Regions from separate parts of the Homo sapiens genome. Here region 2 is linked to region 1. Evidence: promoter capture Hi-C in human tissues and cell types (Jung and others, 2019). All regions are on one chromosome and are shown on one strand. Each heading gives the region's core, a stretch centred on a gene start or on the middle of the fragment in contact. The rest is flanking DNA. Distances are from core to core; before and after follow the strand shown. Region 1 holds the start of LEO1 (LEO1 component of Paf1/RNA polymerase II complex). Region 2 overlaps TMOD3 (tropomodulin 3).

Region 1 (6,237 bases), core at 773-3,272:
TGCTTGAACCCGGAGGCGGAGGTTGCAGTGAGCCAAGATTGTACCACTGCACTGCAGCCTGGGAGACAGACTGAGACTCCGTTAAAAAAAAAAAAAAAAAAAAAAAAGATGTTCAGCATCATTAGCCTTTGGGAAAGTGTAAACTGAAACCACAATGAGACACCACTTGATAACATCAAGGATGGCTACTTTAGAAACAAATAAAAACTTAAAATAACTGTTGGCAAAGATGTGGGGAAAGGGAACCCTGGTGCATTGCTGGTGGTAATGTAAAATGGCTCAACCACTATGGAAAACAGTTTGGCTGCTCCTCAAAATATTAAAGAATTACCATATGACTCTGCACTCCTACATAATACCCTCCTCCCAAAATTAAAAACAGGCACCCAAACATGTACATGAATTTATTTATTTTTTTGGAGACAGAGTCTCACTTTATCACCCAGGTTGAAGTGAAGTGATGCAATCTCAGCTCACTGCCAACCTCTGTCTCCTGGGTTCAAGTGATTCTCATGCCTCAGCCTTCTGAGTACCTGGGACTACAGGCACGCACGACCACACCTGGCTAACAGTTTGTATTTTTAGTAGAGACAGGGTTTCACCATGTTGCCCAGGCTGGTCTTCAACTCCTGAGCTCAGGCAAATCCGCCTGCCGGAACCAGGAATGTTTACAGTAGCACTATTCAAACAACCCAATGTCCATCAACAGATAAATGGATTAACAAATTTAGGGTGTGCACATTCAATGGAATATTATTAAATCATTAAAAATGAATAAAGTACTGATATGTGCTACAATGCCTTGAAGACATTATGCTAAGTAAAAGAAACCAGACACAAAAGACCACAATGCATGATTCAATTTATATGAAATTCCCAGAACAGATAAGTACAGAAACAATAGCAGACAGGGGTTGGAGGAAGGAGCATATGAGGAGTAAGTGCTTTATGAACAGTGTTTTATTTGGGGGTGATGAAAATAACAACTAGATATATGTTGTCTACAAGAGACTCACTTTACTTGGAGCCTAGAGGGTTGCAAGAATTCTGAACTTGGTCTTGGGTTCTCACTTCAAATAGCTCCTATTCATATTTCAAGTGCCCGTAGTCTCAACTACTTGGAGGCTGAGGCAGAAGGATGGCTTGAGCCCAGAAGTTCAAGGCCAACCTGAGCAACACAGTGAGACCCTGTCTCTAAAAAAGTAAACTTTAAAAAAACACCCACAATCCTGTGCCAGAAATAACTTCCAAGCAGCATGCACATACACTAATTCATTCATTTCATCAACAAATCCTTCATTCCTCCTCTCTGTACACAGACCCCATGCACTCCCCAATCTAACATCACAGACTCCGGAAATTCTGGAGTTTCTGCACAAGCTCTTAGAGAACACATTCTCTCCTATGTGAAACATCTATCTGTAACCCCATCCCATTATCCGTCCCAGACTCGTCATCCAGACATCTCAAGCTCCCTATCACACCATGCTCTGGTTTCATTCAAGACGGCATTCTGAGGCCCTCTGTAAATTCGCCCACCCCATCCCATATTCCTGCATTCATTTCCATTCATTCAAAAACAGCCCTTACTCTACGCTGGCCTGTGCAAGGCAAGGCGGAACAGGACTCCAACGTTCCTACCCGCGCTGCGCAGGCTCGCCTGCACTTCCACCCATGCCCCGCGCCCCTTTCGCTCCACAAGCTCCCAGGAACCGTCTGCTCCACCGACACCCAGAGCCTCGAGGCGCAGACTGTCTGACTCTCCATCCTGCCCGCCGGAGGAGGATGGCACCTCCGGGAGTGCAGGGGGCGCTGAGGCAGGAGTGGAGGAAACGCCACCTCTTGCCCGCGGCGCTGGAGCCTCCACGGTTGTCCGGCTCCCACAGCGGAAGGCCTGCCACGCACCCATCCTCCGAAGACCAGCGAACCCACCTTTACGCTCAGCTTCGCTGTCGGCGTCGCTCCCGAAGAGATCCTCCATATCCGCCATTATCGCTCACGTCCGCTGCTGCCTCGGTTAGGGGCAGCTCCCGGCCTCTCTTTACGGCACGGAACCACTGAAACACGACAGTGTCGCAAAGATTCGCCGAAGACACTCCTTTCCTTACGTGACCTAGTTTTCGCTCGCCCAGTGAACCTGTTCTCGCCTGGGTATGCATGGTATATAAGCCCGGCCATTTCGTCAATATCTGTTATTTGCCAGGATTCTTACCAGGGGGCGGGGGGGTCCTGCGTTCGGTTGCGGGTGTGGATGGGGTGGGCGGTGACTGGCGCTCTCTGGGGAAGGGCCTCTGGCTGGATTAAACCTATCGCGAGTCAGGATTGAAGCCCTTTGTTTCTTACTGAGCAGCTGTTCTCCAGTTATTTCATCCCAAACCCCTTTACCCTCTTAAAAATTGTTGAGACGGAGTCTCGCTCAGTCGCCCAGGCTGGAGTGCAGTGGCGCGATCTCGGCTCACAGCAACCTCCACTGTCCGGGTTCAAGCAATTCTAATTCCTCAGCCTCCCGAGTAGCTGGGACGACAGGCGCCCGCCACCACACCCGGCTAATTTTTTGTATTTTAGTAGACACGGGGTTTCACCGTGTTGCCCAGGCTGGTCGCAAACTCAGGAGCTCAGGCAATCCGCCCGCCTCGGCCTCCCAAAGTGCTGGGATTACAGGTACGGGTATTGATATTTACTGTATTCTTACTAATACGGTAATAAATTTTTAAGTTACTAATTCATTTAAAAATAATATACATGTTAACAAACAGCTTTTTTAAGCTTTAAATGACCATTTTTTTGGCCGGGCGCGGTCGCTCACGCCTGTAATCCCAGCACTTTGGGAGGCCGAGGCGGGTGGATCACGAGGTCAGGAGATCGAGACCATCCTGGCTAACACGGTGAAACCCCGTCTCTACTAAAATAAAAAAAATTAGCCGGGCGTGGTTGTGGGCGCCTGTCGTCCCAGCTACTAGGGAGGATGAGGCAGGAGAATGGCGTGAACCCAGGAGGCGGAGCTTGCAGTGAGCCGAGATCGCGCCACTGCACTCCAGCCTGGGCACGAGACTCCATCTCAAAAAAATAATAATAATAAAATAAAATAATTAAAAATAAAAACATTAGCCAGGCATGATGGCATGCATTTGTAGCCCTAGCTACTCAGGAAACTGAGAATGGAGGATCACTTGAGCCCAGGAGTTGGAGGCTGCAGTGAGCTATGATCACGCCACTTCACTCTAGCCTGAGTGACAGAGTAAGGCTCTGTTTCTTAGAAGAAAAAGTGAGAAAAGAGTACATCCTGTGTTACATTACCTAATTAGGCCATTATGAGAGTTTTGGTCTTGGACAAGCAACAATGAATATTTAGTTTGGAGATTATATGATATATATTTTTGTAGTAAACTTCAGTGCTTAACAGGGTCCAAATGGGTGGGACTGGGTATGTAATCATCAATCCTAGAGCTTTTGTGTATGAAGCGGATGTTGCAAGAGAAGATACATAGATAACCTGAAAACTATCTGGAATACTGGAAAAACAAGTATTCCATTTGACAGTGATTCAGTTTCATTTTCATTTAGAGTACTGTCCCTGAAAAGTACTTTGATTAAATTTATTTTCTTTTGATACAGTGTCTCTGTTGCCTAGGCTGGAGCGCAGTGGCGCCATCATAGCTCACTGCAGCCTCAAACTCCTGGCCTCAAGAGGTCCTCCTGCCTCGGCCTCCTAACACGTTGGGATTACAAGTATGGGCCACAGTGCCTGGCTAAATCTTAATAAATTGAATTACAGTTTGGTCTGGTGAGTCACCATGTCCATATTCCTGGCTATCAGAATAAACGTGTTTTTCCCATATGAATAGTATAAAACAAATCACTTCTGACTCTTGGACAGATTTTTTTGTTTATGTTTTGGCTACACTTTTTTTTTTTAAACAGAGTTTCGCTCTTGTTGCCCAGGCTGGAGTACAATGGCGTGATCTCAGCTCACTGCAACCTCCACCTCCCGGGTTCGAGTGATTCTCCTGCCTCAGCCTTCTGAGTAGCTGGGATTACAGGCATGCGCCACCATATCCGGTTAATTTTGTATTTTTAGTAGAGATGGGATTTCATCATGTTAGTCAGGCTGGTCTCAAACTCCTGACCTCAGGTGATCCACCCGCCTTGGCCTCCCAAAGTGATGGAATTACAGGCCTGAGCCACCGTGCCCAGCCTTGTTTTGGTTACACTTTATGCTGACCATTGCTCTTCTACTCATTATCTTTCTTCATAAAGGATATAATACATGAGATTGGACTTAAGGTAAATCAATCACAATCATTTTGCAGTATTTCTTACCTGAGGTTATCACTTTGATTGAAGTTTATTTTATTTTTAATACTTTTTTAAAAACTTAAAAAAATATATAGAAACAAGGTCTCACTATGTTGCCTAGACTGGTCTTGAATTCCTGGCCTCAAGTGATCCTCGTGTCTTGGCCTCCAAAAGTGTTGGAATTACAGGTGTAAGCCACTACACCCAGTTTGATTAAAGTTTACAGTGCTAAATAACTTCATTTACCCCCAGAGATGGAGAATTTAATCCTATTTGGTTTGTGTTCAACTAATTTAACTTTGAATGTTAAGATGATCTTGACAGGCCGGGCACGGTGGCTCACCCCTGTAATCCCAGCACTTTGGGAGGCCGAGGCAGGTGGATCACAAGGTCAGGAGATCGAGACCATCCTGGCTAACACAGTGACCCCGTCTCTACTAAAAATATTTAAAAAAAAGTTAGCAGGGCATGGTGACGGGCACCTGTAGTCCCAGCTACTGGGGAGGCTGAGGCAGGAGAATGGCATGAACCCAGGAGGCGGAGCTTGCAGTGAGCTGAGATCACGCCACTGCACCCGAGCCTGGGAGACAGAGCGAGACTCCGTCTCAAAAAAAAAAAAAAAAAAAAAAAGATGATCTTGACATTTGTTCCTAGGAATGGAGAATTTCTTTTTTCCCCCCCCGCAAGACAGAGTCTTGCTCTGTCACCCAGGCTGGAGTGCCGTGGCATGACCTTGGCTCACTGCAACCTCCGCCTCCCGGCTTCAAGTGATTCTCCTGTCTCAGCCTCCCAAGTAGCTGGGACTATAGGCATGCACCACCATGCCCAGCTAATTTTTGTATTTTTAGTAAAGACAGGGTTTCACCATGTTGGCCAGGCTGGTCTTGAATTCCTGACCTCAGGTGATCCATCCACCTCAACCTCCCAAATGCTGGGATTACTGGCGTCAGCCACCGCACCAGGCCTGAGAATTTCATCTATTAGGTGTGTGATTAAATAAAACAACTTCAGAGTGGCTTTATCTTCGTTCTTTCAGTTTTTGAAAGAACGTTCTGCTTTCATAAGGTGAAGCTAGATCCTCAGAATAATATCTTTTTAGATACCATAGAACCCGAAGAACAAAGATTCAATGAGGTTGAGTACATAACACAATACAATTAATGTATCATCACAAACATTTTTACAAGGTAATCAAAAAAATACTCAACAGGCCGGGCGCGGTGGCTCACGCCTGTAATCCCAGCACTTTGGGAGGCCAAGGCAGGTGGATCACGAGGTCAAGAGATCAAGACCATCCTGGCCAACATGGTGAAACCTCGTCTCTACTAAGAATACAAAAATTAGCTGGGTGGGGTGGCATGCACCTGTAGTCCCAGCTACTCAGGAGGCTGAGGCAGGAGAATCGCTTGAATCCGGGAGGCGGAGGTTGCAGTGAGCCAAGATCGCGCCACTGCACTCAAGCCTGGAGACAGAGCAAGACTCCGTCTAAAAAAAAAAAGTATAAAATATATACTTACACCAAATCACACAAAAAGGAATATATGTTTTTAAATTTGTGTAACACCTTAACGACTTAGAGGAAAAATAACAGATTGATTAAACAGAATATATTCACTGAAAATTCACTCCATTTATGGTAAACTGCCACTCCACAGGAGGATCATGTGGCTTTTCTGAGCACTTTGTGGAAGGAGTTGGCCTTTAGAAGGGAACAGGCTGATCTGAATTAAAGAGAGCAAGAGAGGAACCTTGTAGTTTCTCTCTATAGCAGTAAGTAAATACTCAGCTGATTTCTTGGAAGACACATGATATTCACTAACAGTCTGCCTTTACTGGATTCCTTACTGAATTACTGAATTAGGGTCCCACAATGGGTGCTATAGGGATATAAAAATAATGACAAACATATTTCTTCATATAAAAGAGTTTGGGGGGCTGGAC
Region 2 (5,521 bases), core at 619-3,118, 100 kb before region 1:
TCTCCAGGCATTGTCAAATGTCCTCTAGGGGACAAAAACACTACTGGTTCAGAAACATTGATCTAGTTCATGCCCTCTGTTTTACAGATGGAAAACAGAAATTAGGTAACTTGCCTCAGTTATTACAATTAGGGAAAGAGCTGGGACTAGATCCCTCACTGCCTGATTGATACCTGGCAGTCTAGCAGTCTTTTTCTGTTAAACCACATTGAGTCTCCTCCCAACTCATGCACTATGGTATCAGTCTGAAATCTGTTGGCTAATTTTTTATTTGTAAATCCATGGCCTGCTTCTTGTGTGGGGAGGCTTGAGTAACCTCTGAATGTATTTTGCAAACTCCCCAACCCCAGTCATAATTCCTCTAACCTCAATACTGTTAGTTGAGGCTAGGAGAACAGTGATGTTTATTGACAGCATCTGTTTGTTGGGTGACATGTTTTTGGAAAGCGTTCTGGTAAAGAACCAGGTAAGAAAAGAGGTCAAGGGTAGTAGCAGCTACTTCAGCCAAAGAAACACCACTGTAACTTACAAAGTCTCAGGAAGTAGGTCGAAGGTGTGTGTGGTACCTTATTATATTTTGGAGGACTGTTTTACTGTCCTTCTGCTGTATTCAGTGTACGTGTTTGCTAACTCACTGAGTTTTTGCCAAAAAAAAAATATATATATATGTCTCCAGAAGACAGCCAGCCTAGGAAGAGCTTTTTTTCCCCCCCAAGGCTAGGAATATATTTTACAGCAAAATTGCACTGCAAGAGAGAAACGTGTCATTTTTAGTGACAATCATATTAAAGAAAATTTTTATATGAAAAGTAATTATGATCTATTAGCTTACTTGATTAGAACATATTTCTAATGAAGCTTGGTTCATGGGTTTATAGTCTCTAAAACCAGCTAGCTTCATTTAGATTGTGGTTAGACTGTTTTTGGCCGGGTATAGTGGCTCACACCTGTAATCCTAGCATTTTGGGAGGCCAAGGAGGGAGATTTGCTTAAGAGCAGGAGTTCCAGACCATCCTGGGCAACATAGCAAGACCTTGCCTCGACAAAAAATTTTAAAAATTAGCCGGGGGCATGGTGGTGCACACCTGTAGTTCCAGTTACTCCAGAGGCCTAGGCAGGAAGATTGCTTAAGCCCAGGAGTTCAAGGTTGCAGCAAGCTGTGATCGCACCACTGTACTCCAGCCTGAGCAGTAGAGCAAGACCCTGTCTCCCCCCTACCCAAAAAAAAGAAAGAAAAAAAAGGCTTTCTAAGGAGCCAGACCAAAAAGAAAGAAAGAAAAAAAAGGCTTTCTAGGGAGCCAGGATTTCAGCTATCATATTTAAGACTGTGTGTGTCACATGGGCTTGAGCAGGCAGGTAGAGTAGTGCAAATTCCATTACCACCACCATGAAATAGCAATATATACATCTATGCATTAATGATGGAGAAGGAAAGTAACTTTTTATTAATTTGCCTTAATGAGAATCTTTCTTTAAAAGCATTCTAACACCTTTATTCAGTAAATATTTGGGGGCAACTTGTAGACCCCAGGTACTATGCTAGGCTTAGGAATACAAGAATGAGCAAAACAAATGTGGTCTTTGCCCTCATGACGCAGGCTGGTAGGAATAGGAGCAGTTTGACATTAACCAAATAATCATACCATATTAAAAGAATGGTAAGTGCTACACACTGTAAGAGCTTGTGATGAGAGGTTAAGAAAAGCTTCCCTGGGGGAATGGAGCTACAATCTGAAAAATGAGTTGCAAAAAGGGATAGGCAGAGCATTCCAGGGAAGGGAGACCACACACATAGAGGCCTGGTGGTAGAAGGAAGTATATGGCAAGTACAAGAGAGAAAAAAAAGTCCAGTGTGACTGGAATGGAGAGGGTGTGTGAGATGAGGCTAGGGTGACAGACTGAGGGGCTGGTGGTGAAGGATAAAAAATATCAGGCAGCTGATCCAGGTGGGAAGCTAATGTAACAGTCTCAGCAAGCTTAGATCATAGTTTCGACCAAAGTAATAATGTTGGAGATGGGAAAAAGATGAATGAGTTCTTCAGGAAGTAAAAATGAGTAGGACTTGCAGGTCAATTGGAAATGGATTCTTCATGTGTAATTCCTCTCATGATTTCTAAGTCTAAAGGTAGAAATCTTATGTTTCTTTTTTATGTTTCCATAAACAATTTTGTATTACAGAAACATACTTGGTACAAAGTTAGGAATGTTTCGTCTTTACAGTTCAGCTTTCTGTGTAGTAGGTACCATTACATAAAGGGTAACACAGAAGTGAATTTTATGAAAATTATTATGTGTCTCAACAAATGACCACAGTTGAAGTGCTGTATTTCCTAGTTACAAATTGAATATTTTCTATTACTATTGCCCATATAAGATTACCCTTTATAATGAAAAATTGTCTTATACCACCCATGAAATTCAGCGTCACTGCCAATATTGGGAGGTTTTGCAAAAGAGAGCTGGCCCTTTTGTGTGATTTCTCTGGCTGCCTCCCATTTTCAAAGCAAAGATATACCCAGAAATATGAGACAAGGCAGTATCACCTCTTTGGCTTTTGACAAGTGAAAGGACGGTACTCACTTTGTCTAGTCAGCCCTTGTGTTTACTGGGCTTAGTGAAAATTAAGGGACTACAGGAGACAACTTTAATCCATCACCTTCCACTGCACCTCCCTCATCTCTAAGTCAGTCCATGCGCTCAAAAAGGCTGTACCCGTGTGGAAACCCAGGAACATAGCTCTTGCTGTGAGTATGTCAGGGGTCCCTTGGGGCATGTGAAACAATGATAGTGATTGTAGCAAGTACATCCTAGTGGTCATGTATATATGTACGCATACACACACAAGTGGAACATCTCACGTTGTGTTTAAACTGAAGTAAACATTAATCTGATATCCTACTGTATGGTATATATGTTGTAATCATGAAGAAGTCTGTACAATGAAATGGAAGTCATGAAGGAATATAATGTACAGAGTCATTTAAAACTCTTTTGTAATAGAATTATTCTCTGTACATATATATACACTGAGCAGTTATTAAGCATTAATAAAACTTTTTAAAAAAAACGTTTTAAGTTCAGGGATACCTGTGCAGGTTTCATTACGTAGGTAAACTTGTGTCATGGGGGTTTGTTGTACAGATTATTTCATCACTAATACCTGTTAGTTATTTTTCCTGATCCTCTACCTCCTCCCACCCTCCACCCTCCTCTATGCTCCAATATGTGTGCTTTATATGTCCTTGTGTTCTCATCACTTAGCTCTATATGTGTGCTCTATATGTCCGTGTGTTCTCATCATTGACTCCCACTTATGTAAGTAAGAAGATGTGGTATGTGGTTAATAAAACTTTTTTATTAGTATCCCAGAACACTTAAAAACTAAAGATTGTTTTCTGCTAGTAGAATCCTCTCTGAAGAAAATGTTCTATTAGAAAACGTATGCTGGGCGCGGTGGCTCACACCTGTAATCCCAACACTTTGGGCAGCCGAGGAGGGCAGATCATCTGAAGTCAGGAATTCTAGACTAGTCTGGCCAACATGGCAAAACCCCATCTCTACCCAAAACGCAAAAATTAGCTGGGCGTGGTGGCAGGCGCCTGTAATCCCAGCTACTTGGGAGTCTGAGGCATGATAATCACTTGAACCCAGGAGGCAGAGGTTGCAGTGAGCTGAGATCATGCCACTGCACTCCAGCTTTGGGGATAGAAGGAGACTGTCTCCAAAAAGAAAAGAAACTGTACTAATGTATGTGCCTATTTTAATAATAATGTAAGTGAATTCTACCTAATAAAAAAGAAGTTTAATGTTTGGAGCAATTGTACATTGCTGTCCTAAAATCCTGCAATGAAGTGTTTAGTGCCTGTATCACATTCCAGTCTGTAATTCTTTTTTATATGGGTAATCTTCGGAAGCATATAGCATTAGCATTCTTATTGGTCATATTGGCTGATTCATTCTCTCTGGCAGAATGCCCTTCTGCCTGCAGGGTTCCGGCAGAAGAACCAGACATCAAAGTCCACCACAGGGCCATTTGATAGAGAGCATCTCCTTTCATATCTGGAGAAAGAAGCATTGGAGCATAAAGACAGGGAAGACTATGTGCCCTACACTGGAGAAAAAAAAGGTAAGCCCCAGAATTTTAAAGTCATTATGTGGTAACACTTGATTTTTCTTTTTATAGGTGGGTGTGGAGAAAATCATATTTTTAGAGGTACATCATTGGTAGCCTTAAATATATGATACTGTTGACTTAGACATTTATTGGTTTAGATACTTTATTTACATTTTTCATCAACTTGGTCAATAAGTTTCTTCTTAATGATGTTAGTGAGGTTTTATTACACAATGATTTTGAATAACATTCTTTAATTCTCTACTATAACAGATCTAAAAGTATATTGAAGGAAACTTAAAATTCAGTGGTAGATTACAGAGTACAAATGATGTTAAGGCATCTATTCTAACTGCATTCTTTAAAGTGGAATGCCATAAAACAATTCATGCCATATTTTCAAAGACCCTTTTAAAAAGCTATTCTATACCCATCATTATTAATTCATGGTTATGATTGCTAATGCTTCATAATCAGTAGTTTTAGGAAATTTTTCTAGTCCAAGTCTCCCCCATTTAAGTGTTTGAGCTTATGTATTCTCAGTGGAGCCTGAGTACGGCTGTGGTTGTTTTTTTGTTTGTTTGTTTGTTTGTTTGAGATGGAGTCTTGCTCTGTTGCCCAGGCCGGAGTGCAATGGTGCACCCTCGCCTCACTGCAACCTCCGCCTCCCGGGTTTAAGCGATTCTCCTGTCTCAGCCTCCTTAGTAGCTGGGATTACAGGTGCACACCAGCACGTCTGGCTAATTTTTGTATTTTTAGTAGAGATGGGGTTTCACAGTGTTGGCCAGGCTGGTCTCGAACTCCTGACCTCAAGTGATCCACCCACCTAGGCCTCCTAAAGTGCTGGGATTACAGGCATGAGCCACTGCACCCAGCCACAGCTGTGTTTTTAAAAGTTCTATATATAATAATACTTAAATGAAACAGGATAAGTTTTTCAGCTTTCCAAACAGGTCAGAATACAGGTTGGCCTAAAAAGCCAAATTCTACGTTCACTCTTACTTGGAATACTGTGTATAGAATACTGGGGAATGGTGGCAGCAGTAGCAGAGCTGAAGATCAGCTCTTGCAGGCACCATTTTTATGTCTGAATTCATATTAGTCCAGGCAGGAAGAATGGGACTTGGGCTTTTTATTTGAGAAAGAGGCCCTTCTCAATCATTTTGGCCAGAACTGTGTCACATGGCTACCCCTTAGCTGCAAGGGAAGCAAGAAAGTTCATTTTAGCACTCCAGCTTCTATAGTAGAGGAAGGCTTGTGAATGGCTATTGAGTAGGTAAGCCGTAAGCTCTGCACCTGACTTTTCTAAAATTATCCATCACCCCAGCCCCTGTGCTTTTTCTTTAGAGTCCTCTTCCTCTTCATCTCTTGTTAAGGATCACTATCTTTGTTATTTAAGTTAGTCAG

Evidence for each region. The method cuts DNA at HindIII sites, captures the fragments that hold promoters and counts their contacts. A contact is called where the count stands out against the background at its distance.
Region 2: a fragment that was not itself captured here is called in contact with the fragment with the promoter of LEO1 in region 1 in 3 of the 25 tissues and cell types used here (dorsolateral prefrontal cortex, hippocampus and mesendoderm cells).

What each region holds. Positions count from the first base shown.
Region 1 is chr15:51,969,756-51,975,992 of GRCh38, forward strand. It overlaps LEO1 (LEO1 component of Paf1/RNA polymerase II complex), which reads right to left and starts at 2,023. Exons shown (of 12, transcript NM_138792.4): 1 at 1,933-2,023. The coding sequence starts at 1,990. It also overlaps a transcript of MAPK6 not described here. RefSeq lists enhancers at 1,140-1,716, 1,540-2,069, 1,717-2,292. The HindIII fragment of the contact is 14,890 bases long and covers 1-6,237 here.
Region 2 is chr15:51,865,248-51,870,768 of GRCh38, forward strand. It overlaps TMOD3 (tropomodulin 3), which reads left to right. Exons shown (of 10, transcript NM_014547.5): 3 at 3,970-4,126. Among named protein-coding and RNA genes, the nearest start is that of TMOD3, 38 kb to the left of the region's middle. The HindIII fragment of the contact is 4,580 bases long and covers 1-4,158 here.